4 separate regions of the Homo sapiens genome follow, and all the other regions are linked to region 1. The links are contacts of gene promoters, found by promoter capture Hi-C in blood cells and fetal thymus (Javierre and others, 2016). All regions are on one chromosome and are shown on one strand. The core of a region is centred on a gene start or on the middle of the fragment in contact, and the rest is flanking DNA. Distances in the headings are between cores, read along the strand shown.

The links. The method cuts DNA at HindIII sites, captures the fragments that hold promoters and counts their contacts. A CHiCAGO score of 5 or more calls a contact.
Region 2: a contact is called between the fragment with the promoter of ABCA13 here and the fragment with the promoter of PKD1L1 in region 1, in 7 of 17 cell types (non-activated CD4 T cells, activated CD4 T cells, M1 macrophages and 4 more). The highest score is 7.8, in non-activated CD4 T cells.
Region 3: a fragment that was not itself captured here is called in contact with the fragment with the promoter of PKD1L1 in region 1 in 12 of 17 cell types (activated CD4 T cells, M1 macrophages, naive CD4 T cells and 9 more); the score reaches 13.6 in activated CD4 T cells.
Region 4: a contact is called between a fragment that was not itself captured here and the fragment with the promoter of PKD1L1 in region 1, in 1 of 17 cell types (neutrophils). The highest score is 5.3, in neutrophils.

The regions. Positions count from the first base shown.
Region 1 is chr7:47,946,902-47,949,872 of GRCh38, forward strand. It overlaps PKD1L1 (polycystin 1 like 1, transient receptor potential channel interacting), which reads right to left and starts at 1,565. Exons shown (of 57, transcript NM_138295.5): 1 at 1,496-1,565. The coding sequence starts at 1,539. The HindIII fragment of the contact is 5,981 bases long and covers 1,460-2,971 here.
Region 2 is chr7:48,170,177-48,173,377 of GRCh38, forward strand. It overlaps ABCA13 (ATP binding cassette subfamily A member 13), which reads left to right and starts at 1,282. Exons shown (of 62, transcript NM_152701.5): 1 at 1,282-1,376. The coding sequence starts at 1,308. The HindIII fragment of the contact is 8,502 bases long and covers 1-3,201 here.
Region 3 is chr7:48,131,348-48,134,508 of GRCh38, forward strand. No RefSeq gene overlaps it. Among named protein-coding and RNA genes, the nearest start is that of ABCA13, 39 kb to the right of the region's middle. RefSeq lists an enhancer at 1,727-2,334. The HindIII fragment of the contact is 3,537 bases long and covers 1-3,148 here.
Region 4 is chr7:48,189,034-48,191,900 of GRCh38, forward strand. All of the region lies in intron 1 of ABCA13 (ATP binding cassette subfamily A member 13), which reads left to right. Among named protein-coding and RNA genes, the nearest start is that of ABCA13, 19 kb to the left of the region's middle. The HindIII fragment of the contact is 8,687 bases long and covers 1-2,867 here.

The sequences.
Region 1 (2,971 bases), core at 315-2,814:
AAAAACATCAAGTCAGCGACTTCCGCTCCTCAGCTTTTCTTTCCTTTCTAAGGGCAAAGGGGTAATTCCTTGCAATTCCCTGACTGATAAGAGTGAAGGTCAAATTGGGCCAACATCAAGGCTCTGGGAGTCTGCAGGAGCATGGGCATTTGGAATAAAAGAAACATGAGGTAACCAGAAAAAATAAGGGAAAAAATTGTAGCCAAAATCAGACAATGCTTGGCAGCAGTGAGTGACATAAGGCAAAGAAATTTCCAAGCATGAATGTGACCAACCCCGTCAACACGTGCAGCCTCATTTTCTCATCCTGGTTTGCTTTGGGTTTCTTTGATAAAATGATGGTGATGGCACAAAGACAGTAAGCTAACAAAGGCAGAAATGCTGACAGCAAGCATTCATCAAGGATACTGATTTTTATAACGACCCTCTGGAGTTTACAGATGTGACAACAGGGGTACTCAGATTTTCAGGATGAGAAATCTGGGGGTGAGGAGGTAAAGTGACCTGCAGTGGCGGGGTACCCCACTGGGCAAGATCTGCAGGCACAGGCTCCCATCATGCCAGGCCAGGGGACAGCGGTGACCCACCTGGGTCCTTACCACATCCCACAGGCAGGTCACCTTGCTGGCCTCACGCCCAGGAAAGGGGGCATGGAGGTTTGCACCATGTCACACTGCCATGAGACAGTCAACAGCAGAGCACACAGGCTGCCCAGCCTCAACAACACATGGGTGCTGGCGCGCACAGAGCATGGGGAAGAGGGTTTAGAAATAAGACCCATGGAGGCTGGGTGCGGTGGCTTATGCCTGTAATCCCAGTACTTTGGGAGGCCAAGGCGGGCAGATCACAAGGTCAGGAGATCGAGACCATCCTGGCTAACACAGTGAAACCCCGTCTCTACTAAAAATACAAAAAATTAGTCGGGCGTGGTGGTGGGCGCCTGTGGTCCCAGCTACTTGGGAGGCTGAGGCAGGATAAATGGCATGAACCCAGGAGGCAGAGCTTGCAGTGAGCCAAGATCGCACCTCTGCACTCGAGCCTGGGCAACAGAGAGAGACTCCGTCTCAAAAAAAAAGAAATAAGACCCCTGGGCCAAGACCCCATGATCTCTTCCTGTGCCAGGTTTCTCCTGGTCTCCATGCAAGGGACCTAGCAGACAAGCAGATAGCTTAACTTTGTCTACTACCAGGCAGCAGAAAGTCCTCGAACTTGGAAGGTATCCTGCATTTGCAGGAAGAGCAATCAGCACTTCTCATGGCTGAAGGCATCCGCTTGGAGGAGTCTTCTCAAAAGCCTTCAGGAAAAAACTCCATTCTCAACACCAACTCCAACCTCTGAACTGACCCCGCCGGCCAAATGCACCCTCCTGGTACAGGGCCTCCACTCGTGCCAGAGTGAGCCCACATCCTAGAGGTGATGACTTTTGAAAGAAAATTTCTGAATGCATACTTTAAAATCAAGCTTACCAAACCCTCTGAGAACAGTGATAACTCACCTTTCCTGGTCATCAGAAATGTTCTGGGCTGCCTCCTCGGCCATGTCCTGTGCAAGCTGGTCACAAGTATGACAGTCAGCAGACCAGCTTCTTCCTACATCCTCTGGAAGACAAAGAAATAGAGCTTAATGCTTCCAGCTTCTGTACTTGTGACCTCTTATCAGGACACACATCAAACACAGAGGGAAAAATCCAAACTCCAGTAACATTTTCCCAAGCAGAAACAGCTTTTGTTTTCCTAACACTGTCAGACAAATTCCTTCCTAAGAAGTGTGCTTTTGACAGACGTGGTGGCTCATGTCTGTAATCCCAGCAATTTGGGAGGCCAAGGTGGGTGGATCACTTGAGGCCAGAAGTTTGAGACCAGCCTGGCCAATATGGTGAAACCCCGTCTCTACTAAAAATACAAAAATAGCCAAGTGTGGTGGCACACATCTGTAATCCCAGTTACCCAGGAGGCTCAGGCGAGAGAATTGCTTGAACCTAGGAGGTGGAGGTTGCAGTGAGACGAGATTGCACCACTGTGCAATAGAGTGAGACTCTGCCTCAAAAACAAAATGAAACAAAACAAAACAAAACAAAAGTGTGTTTTAGGTAGGGATCTTTGTGGCTGCCTGAAACAGATCACTACTCAAGGGAGAGACTGTACATGGAAGCTGAGAGAAGTCTGAGAATAAAAAGCTGTAACTGTTGGCTGGGCGCGGTGGCTCACGCCTATAATCCCAACACTTTGGGAGGTCGAGGTGGGCGGATCACGAGGTCAGGAGCTCGAGACCAGCCTGGCCAGCATAGTGAAACCCCGTCTCTACTAAAAATACAAAAATTAGCCAGGCATGGTGGCACGCACCTGTAGTCCCAGCTACTCGGGAGGCTGAGGCAGGAGAATTGCTCGAAACCGAGAGGCGGAGGTTGCAGTGAGCCGAGATCGTGCCACCACACTCCAGCCTGGGCAACAGAGCGAGGCTCTGTCTCAAAAAAAAAAAAAAAAAAAAAAAGCTGTAACTGTCCACAACTGCACTGGGGAACAGGATACCTTCCACAAGAGCAGAAGAGCATTCCTAAGGAAGGCTGGCAAGGCACACACTAGGCGCACTCTGTCTTACGGCAGAACCTAGGAATGATCTGGTTCCGAACCTCCTGCACCTCTCCTTGTTTGCAACTGGCGGGTCAGACTGAGTTCTCTCCATTACGAAACATTTTCTCTTATATTTTTAAAGCACTTGTTAGTTGTCTTAGTTCTTTATACCAACATTTAAACCTTCAGAGATTTTAGAAAACTTAATGTTTTACTCAGAACACTAGATATTTTTTCTCTCCACTCTGAAGAGAGTGATACCAAGAAGAGTGGGAACGTTTTCAGGCACAAGCTCTTTCTCAGATGGGAACACAGACCCCTTGAACAATGATGAACCAAGCTACGGGTGTCCGGCCTTGGATCCTGTGTTTTCTGGAACTTTGCTGCCAATGAGGTGAGTA
Region 2 (3,201 bases), core at 32-2,531, 220 kb after region 1:
AGCAATGGATGAGATAATTTTTGTGTCTCTGACATAATTCTGGCATAGCAGCATAAAAACTGGCTGCTATGAACATAACATGAGAAAAACCTTATGGTTGGAGGCTTTTTCTTATACTAGATTTTTAAAAATTATGACAATTACTTGTAAGGTGTTCTAGATGTTATCTGCAAAGAGAACCAGAGTAGCAATACTTAGGCAACCCCAAAGACCTTTGAGAAGTCACAGGTCAAGGGGGAACATCATATGGGGATCAGGCAAATCCACTTATGGTTGCTGGGCGCCATCCTGCTAAGTAATGGCCTTCACTCTAGTGCTGCCAGCCATGTAACAAAAAATAAAATAAAATAGGCATGCTCTAAACAAATAAGTTTACAAAATAATTGAGTCAGTTTCTTTGCTGAAGCCTGTGTTCCCTGTTTCCTATTGCAAAAGCCATTTATCAAGCATTCACAGCTTGTGAAAATTGCTTTATGAAATAGAAGACCACAAGACTGGGTTGCCTGAAATCCTTCTGACCACAACTGGGGGCAACAGGAACTCAAGAGGGCCTGGCTTCCAAGACGATGGAGCCACCAGCTGGCAAGCTGAATCCATCATGCCACTTAGAAAGTGCAAGTGTTCAGGAATCAAACAGGACTCAGAGGTAATCCACAGGCCACTTGCTGAGTCCTGCCACATCTGCACCCGATACCATTTGAAACGTAGATCCTGATCCCTTTGGAGGAAATGGGTGAAGGAGAAGTATGAAGTGCAGGTGCAGTAGCAGAGTGGAACTTGAGTCACCCATTCCCCAAACTCCCCCAGACACCAACACTGCTTCCATCTCCTTCCCTTCAAACTCTCTGCCATGGGACCACCAAAATTGAAATATTTTGGCAAATTTGTGTAATAACCAATGCTTCAGAAGAAAAAAGGAAAATTCCATCTAATTAATATCCAGAAAAAAAGGGAGGTAAATGGTAAATGTGGGCATTACTTCTTGTCGCACAGATCAGTTCTGTGGGTTCTCGGAAAGGGAGGGCACCCTCTCTGTGTATGTGTGTATGCCCGAGAAAGTCCCTGAAGGCAGCTTTCTGTAATTCAACCCTCCTGAAACACTGAACAGCTAGTGAAAAGATTTCTCAGCAGATGCCGAACAAGAGGGGACATCTGATGCCTGTTTTATTCAGTCACCAGTAATCTCTCTTGCATCACTCACTTTTGTTAGAATTGACTAATAGGCAACATGCCTTCACTTGAGCCCAGCAGATATAAGCACCATCCTTACAGGCTGGCTTCCTGACTGAGAGCAGGGAGCAGCAGGCATGGGGCATGCCGGGTGCCAGTTCAAAGCCCTGCTGTGGAAGAATTGGCTCTGCAGACTCAGGAACCCGGTGAGTGCTTGCCTTGGTTTTCCATAGGGTTCCAGTGAGGTCTGGAGCAAGATCAGGGTCTATTCTTTCCTGCCTGCCTCTGCCTCCTGGCAGGTAAAAACACTCATGCTGCAGGGAATTTGGGGAGGTTGGATTATTTTAAATCAAAACCCGTCCCAAGGGCCAAAGTAGCTGAACACTTTAATGACCAGGATGAAATCAAGGCTGAAGAATTTATCAGAAAAGGGCAAATTTAGAAAAATTCTAAAAACAAACAAACAAAAAAGCAGGTGGAATTGAACTATAATTTGTGTTCTAAGCATTCGTTGTAAAAACTGAACAGTGAATTCTCAGGTTTAAGGAACAAAGCATTTGCTGCATTTAATGCATAAGCAGAATGCTACAGGTACTGACTCCGAAGCACAAGACTGCACAGTGTGCCTCACCAGAGCAGGGTATGACACATCCACTCTGTTATTCTGTAGGGTCACCATCTTTAGTGTTAATTCACATCTATTTAGAACTGTATTCAAATTACATTAGCAAGGTTTTCCTAAGGAGATTGGAATTGTTCAAATGAAACTTGTGTGAATACTTATGCAAATATCCTGTAAGTGTACGTTTTTGTGAAATAGAAATCAATTGCTTGTTATTATGACTAACTTTATTCCTGATGCCACTATATAAACATTAATACCTATAAATGTCATTTTCAGGAGAAGTAGATGTGCAGTAATTTACCTGCATCGTTTCTGATTTTAAGGTCTACAGTTAACCTATGGGAATTTTCTGCTGACAAATGCTTTGGTTTGAAGAGATTCAGTAATTGACATTGAATTACATTTTGCTGAATCCTCCGAGCCAGAATATTCTATCTCTCTGTCTTGAAATAAAATACAAGTTAAAGGAGATGTTTTCTTTTTTATGTGATCTTTAGGATCAAAATAATTTCAGTTGAAAGTTTGTACAAAAGTTTTAAGTTGGCCGGGCGCGGTGGCTCACGCCTGTAATCCCAGCACTTTGGGAGGCCGAGGCGGGCGGATCACGAGGTCAGGAGATCGAGACCATCCTGGCTAACACAGTGAAACCCCGTCTCTACTAAAAAAACACAAAAAAATTAGCCGGGTGTGGTGGCGGACGTCTGTAGTCCCAGCTACGCGGGAGGCTGAGGCAGGAGAATGGCGTGAACCCGGGAGGCGGAGCTTGCAGTGAGCCGAGATCGCGCCACTGCACTCCAGCCTGGGCGACAGAGCGAGACTCCGTCTCAAAAAAAAAAAAAAAAAAAAAAAAAAAAAAAAAAAAAAGTTTTAAGTTCAGGAATAAAGGAGTGAGACAGTCTTCATTGATTGTTAGTGTGTTCGTGTCTGTGTAGGTAGTTTTACATTTATAAACAGTGTATTTCATTGACATGTAAGTTTGTTTTAGGGAATTAGCCTATTTTCCCATGAAAGAGTGTTATGGGTGGAAGTTGGTTCCCAGGCACTGCTCTTTCTGCTTTATGCATATCTACCTCAAAACAGTTCAGTGACCGAGGTAGCCAGACTGCCTACTCCTCCTTAATGGATACTTGAGTTTTAAAAAATTTTCACAATTACTTTTGCTGCTAAGGCAAACATCCTCATCAGAAGGTTTTATTTGTTTGATAACTGTTTATTTAAAGTGGTAACTCCTGCATCCCACTTTTCTTTGACTTATTTTTCTTTAGTATTTATCATCTTGTAACACACCACAGATTTTCTTATTTGCCGATTGCCTCTGGATCCTACATTAGTATGTTACATGCATGAGAGCAGGACATTTTCCCCAATTGGTTCATCAATGTATTCTCCAGCACCCAGAACAGTGC
Region 3 (3,161 bases), core at 130-2,629, 180 kb after region 1:
CATCCTAGGGGTAAATGTGACCACAGATTGGTGCCACACAGCCAAGATACAGCCATTTAGAGCTAGCCAGTAAATACCCACTCTCTGTGCCCATTCAGGGGCATGTCAATCAGTACTGTGTGATATACTGATGTGGTTAGACATTTCCTTGGTTATCCATCACATATCTCTAGTGCTATTGAGCCATGTATCTTTGGTGTGATTCTTTCATTCCCAACTTAAATCTGACCAAAAGAGGAGGTAAGCCAGCTAAAACAGTTCCGAATTTGTATTATATCATCCCCAAATTCAGTTGCTTTATCTCTCAGTTGGGTCAGTGCCAGCATTAAAGCTAATAAATTGGTCTCTTTTACTGAAATGCTCTTCCCATGTGCTTTGCTTTGTATAGTATTATTAACAGGCCAGTGACGCACGTCATCCTTTGTCATGCTAGTATGAAGCAGTGATCACTGTTCTTGAGAAACATGGATATATTTCTGACATTCTATCTAATCTTGTCTTTGGAAAGGAGATATCCACCATGGCAGGCAGAACCACTGGAGAAGGGCATGAGGCCACATACCCAACAAGTGTTTTTCTGTAATCTGCTAGCATGGTCCTGAGCCCACTGAAAGAAGAGGTTTGCTATGGGCAATAACTGTTGATAGTGGCAAGAAAGCCCAAGAACTAGGGACATAAAAACAAAAAAAGAAATTTAGTGGGAACTTCAAAGAAAGATATTCTCCATCTACTAACAATTATTAATGTTTAGCATTTATATAGATACAGGATTAGTCCAGTGTCTTAGGAAAGCTGTTTATCTCAGATGTTGTCTTTTTCTCATTCTTGTTGGTTCTGGAGAATTTTTTTAGATCACCAGTTTGAGACAAAGTTCAAATTGGTGAAGTGGCTTTCTTTTTTTCTTCTTCTTCTTCTTTTTTTTTTTTTTGAGATGGAGTTTCGCTCTTGTTGCCCAGGCTGGGGTGCAATGGTGCGATCTTGCCTCACCGCAACCTCTGCCTCCCGGATTCAAGCAATTCTCCTGCCTCAGTCTCCTGAATAGCTGGGATTACAGGCATGTGCTACCACGCCCAGCTAATTTTTTTGTATTTTTTAGTAGAGACGGGGTTTCTCCATGATAATCAGGCTGGTCTCGAATTCCTGACCTCAGGTGATCCACCCACCTCAGCCTCCCAAAATACTGGGATTACAGGCGTGAGCCACCGTGCCCGGTCAAAGTGGCTTTCTTTAAATGGGTGACATGAGTCAATTCCTTTTAGCTTAGTGGCATGAGGATTGGTTGGGAGCACCTGATAATTCCCTTTCATCTTGGCTGGAGGAAGTCTTTTAAAAGATCTTATTTCCAACAGACAAAATCTCCTGGTTGAAGTCCATGGTCCTAGAATTTTTCATCCTACAGGAGGTCACTGTGGAAAGAGTCTTTTACTAAATTATAGTTTCTAGTTGGCTGCCTTATAAAGCTGTTGCAATTATTCAACATATTCTTTTAATACCATAGATTCACAGTTTTCTGGAAATAATTTCATAGGTCTGCCTGTTATAATTTCAAATGGAGACAGTTGGTATTTACCAAAAGGGGTTGAGTTTAGGCAAAGTAAAACCAATGGAAAAGGTTTCAGACAAGGAATTCTACAAAGCTCAGCAAATTTTTGCCAATTGAGTTTTGATTATTCTATTTGTGTTGAGAGTTAAACTCTGACCTTTTTTCTTCTGTTGTCCAAATTCCTACCTAAAAGGTTTGGGGAGTCATGCACTACACACCATAAAGTCTCCTCAGAAGGGCTTATTTAACATAGCCTGCTTTCCATCCTGACTCTGGCATAACATTACATGACAGATAATGAAAGAAATCAAAATATTTTAACTCCAAATGTATTTCCTTGCCATATTTTGAAATTATCCTGCAAAGTCATCTCTTGAAAAACCTATGTTCTGTAGAGAATCCCCTTTTCCTTTCCAGGCATTTTTCCTGATCCAGGAGAGAATCAGCTAAGAGTCTGGCACCTTTTTAAGTCTGATAAGAATCATTTACAATCTATTGTCTTTGAAACCCACTACCTGGGGGATTCATTTGCATAATAAGAACCTTGGTCGGCTGGCCACAGTGGCTCACTTTGGGAGGCTGAGGTGGGTGGATCACCTGATGTCAGGAGTTCAAGACCAGTCTGACCAATATGGTGAAACCCCATCTCTACTAAAAATACAAAAATTAGATGGGCGTGGTGGCACACGCCTGTGATCCCAGCTACTTGGGAGGCTGAGACAGGAGAATCACTTAAACCTGGGAGGCTGAGGTTGCAGTGAGCCGAGATTGAACCACTGCACTCCAGCATGGGTGACAGAGTAAGACTCCATCTGAAAAAAAAAAAAAAAGGAAACTTGGTCTCCACAACCCCTTATCTTAACCCAGACATTTCCTTTCGATTGGTCCTAGGTTTTTCAATAAAGTCTTTTAACCAATTGCTAATCAGAAAATATTTAAATCTACCAATAACCTGGAAGCCCCGCACACCCACCTTGAGTGGTCCCGCCTTTTTGGACCAAAGAAATGTACATCTTAAATGTATTTGATTGAAGTCTCATGTCTCCTAAAAATGTATAAAAACTAAGCTGCACCCCAACTGTTAATGGTGGAGGGTCTCCAGGTACTTGACATCTTGAACAAAGAATTGGACAAAATGCACAAACAAATCAAGAAAGGAATGAAGGGTTTTATTGAAAATGAAAGTACAGTCCACAGTGTGGGAGCAGGCCTGAGCATAGGGGCTCAAAGGCCCTGTTACAAAATTTTGGGGAGTTTCAATATCCTTTGCTTTGGGTATGCCCTATGTAAATGAAGAGGATGAAGTAAAGTTACAAAGTCATTTACTTGGACTACACTCTATGGAGAGGCTATTTCCTGTCACAGCTGAAGTGTGAATCGGCCTTATGTTCACTGCCTCCAGACCCTATTTTCCTGCCTCATCTCCCCACCGAGAGATGTGATGAACCCAAAGCCCAAGGTCCTGAAGTTTTGTTGTAGTGTGGATGGCAAGGAAACTCTCCAATGTTCTCAGAAGATCCAAACCATAAAAAGCCTTTTTACCTGGTGAAAATACACTGCAGCATAATAATCTACTGTTATAACATCAGCCATCTTGCATGAGAAAGCTTTACAACCA
Region 4 (2,867 bases), core at 208-2,707, 240 kb after region 1:
GGTTTACCAGACGGTTATTTTTCTTGAGAGGAGAGCCTGTGGCAGCATCTGTGCCAGCGCATTTGGACAGCAGAAGTGCCAGTTTCTGCTTCTGATTGGGTCACTTTCTGGTGTTAAGAAGTCAGCAATGGAAGGTCTGAGATGTGCGAGATACGGTGAAGCCCTAGCATTAATCAGACAGCATTCCTATTTAACAGGGGTAAGATTCAAAATGTTAAGCAAGATTCGAGGATAATAATGACATATAAGAAGAAAAACGTGATTAAAAATGTGATGAGAAAGGGAAGGCTGCCTTTGCACCCCTGCAGAGAAATAGTCTTATGAAAGCCACTCACACACAATGGAAAATGACACAGCAGAACTGGTGTCTGGCTACTTTTCTCTTGAATGGAGCAACTTCAAATTCAGAACAATGAAAGATATTTTTTCACTTGTGATTTTCAGAAGGGTCAGTGACCACCTTGTAAATAAAACACTCTGAGATGTTGTTTTTTAGGTTTAATTGGAATTCTGTTATTATTTCAAGATGCTTAGAGAAACTTCTCAACGATAAGATTCAAGGTTTTATTTTCTTCCAATAATATTTTCATTTGAAACTAGAGATCGGATGTGGATTTTTAAGACTGGACTGAAAAATATTTGTGATTTTAGAGTTACTACTATTTTAATTTGGCTTTGGCAGGGTCCTTTAAATGATGTTGTCTTCATGTGAAGGGAACAATATCCAGATACTATAAATAAAAGGATTGATAAATTAATGGCATGAAAGATTTAGACAATAAAAAGGCAAATACAAAGTTGGAGAAAGTATTTGTAATACCATAAGCCATGAAAAGGCTGAATTCTTTAATTAAAAAATTAAATACAAAATGATGCTTTGTAAGTCTGTAAAAATAAAGAACAACTTAATAGAAAAATAGGCAACTGGAAGAACAGAGAGTTAATATGCAAGGAATTATTATATGCTTAACTTGTGAAAAATGCTTGATCTTAATAACTAAAGTTATCATTATGTTTTTGCATATCAGCTTGACAAAAAATTAAGTTTGTTAATCCTAGGTGCTATTGAGAGTGCAATCAGAGTAAATGATAATTGGTTTAGTTTTTAATGAGGGCATTTTCACTACATCTATCCAAATTAAAAATCCACATTAAAAATCATATACACTTCAGTGCAGTAATCCCATTTGGCAATGGTACCTCACGGATCTACTTACAAAAGTCAGCCAAATATGTAAAAAAAACCTCATGAAGTTAAAAGCTGGGATTCATTGAACTGCATCTACTTGATTTCATAATGTGCATTGGTTTTAGTATGTTGCTGTCTTGTTATCTGTAATCAACTATAATAGAGTAATATATTTGGTGTTTTGGACCAAAATTCATGCTACACATATGTCTGACTTTGATGGCCTTTACCTTTTCAAGAAAACTGTTGCAAATTTGAGCAAAATTTTCCCAGTTGTAATATTTCAATAGTGTCATGTAATAGAAAAAATTTAGAAACACTCCTAAGAGAGTTTTCAATTTCAAGCAGAAATGCTTCTCTTCTAAGTAAGTACCACTTTAATTGATAAAAGAAAAACAACCTCATGATATCACTGGCCCCAAATAGAAAAACATGCAAATTTTCATGATGAAGTGATTGGTTAAATAAATTAAATCCTACGGTGGAATATTATGTAGCCTTTAAAAGTAGCAAGGTAGAACTATAAGTGCTGTTATGGAAAATTGGTTCTAACACATTAGTTATACATATACATGTATTTTGTAAATAGATAGTTTATCCTATAGGAGAGTGGTTATAATCTTTCTGTACTTTTAAAATTTCTTAACCATACATATGTTTATTTACATATTTATAATGTCAAAAGTTATATGAGTCTTGGTTCTATAAACCATTTTCTGTTTTTTATACAACTACTTGTCTTAAAAAATAGCTATTGTATGTTATTAAAAATGAAACAGAATAAAAAACCCAAGAAAATTATGTGTTTATTATTCTTAATGCTATCAAGTTATCATTTAATATGAGGTATATTTTTTATTTTGCTTACTTATATTCAGTCAGAATTAATGATGGAATCTTCCCCCACCACCTCCCTACCCCAATACTCCAGTAACTTATTAATTTATTACAAAGAATGACCAAAATGACTTAAATAAGTAGTTATCTCCTGAGCGTCCTTGACCTTTCTTTATAGTTTAATTGTGGTCCCTTGAACCAGAGGGTGATCTGCAGGCATTTTCTTTGTTATCAGAATGTGTGAAACTAGGTTTCAGGACTGTGTCAGAGAACTTTTTAATCATGATGCACTTTTTGTCACAAGAAATACTTCCTCGTGGAATATTTCAAAGACGGTGATTTATTTTTAATTTTTTAATTTGAGACGGAGTCTCGCTCTGTTGCCAGGCTGGCGTGCAGTGTGGTGCAGTCTCGACTCACTGCAACCTCCACCTCCCGGGTTCAAGTGATTCTCCTGTCTCAGCTTTCTGAGTAGCTGGAATTACAGGTGTGTGCCACCATGCCTGGCTAATTTTTTTTTGTATTTTTGGTAGAGATGCAGTTTCACCGTGTTGGCCAGGCTGGTCTGGAACTCCTGACCTCAAGTGATCCGTCTGCCTCGGCCTCCCAGAGTGTTGGGATTACAGGTGTGAGCCACCGTGCCCGGCCAAAGAGGGTGATTTCTTTTCTTCTTTAATTATACCAGGGATGGAAAAACTCTTTTACACCTGTGTTTTGTCTTCATGGCTTTAGGCCACTCATCTGGTCACATTTAGATCTGCTTACAAGGAAGGATTACTGCAATGGGATATGACCATGGCAGTTCAAAGAATAAAGAAACCAAAGTGACCAGAAGTTCATG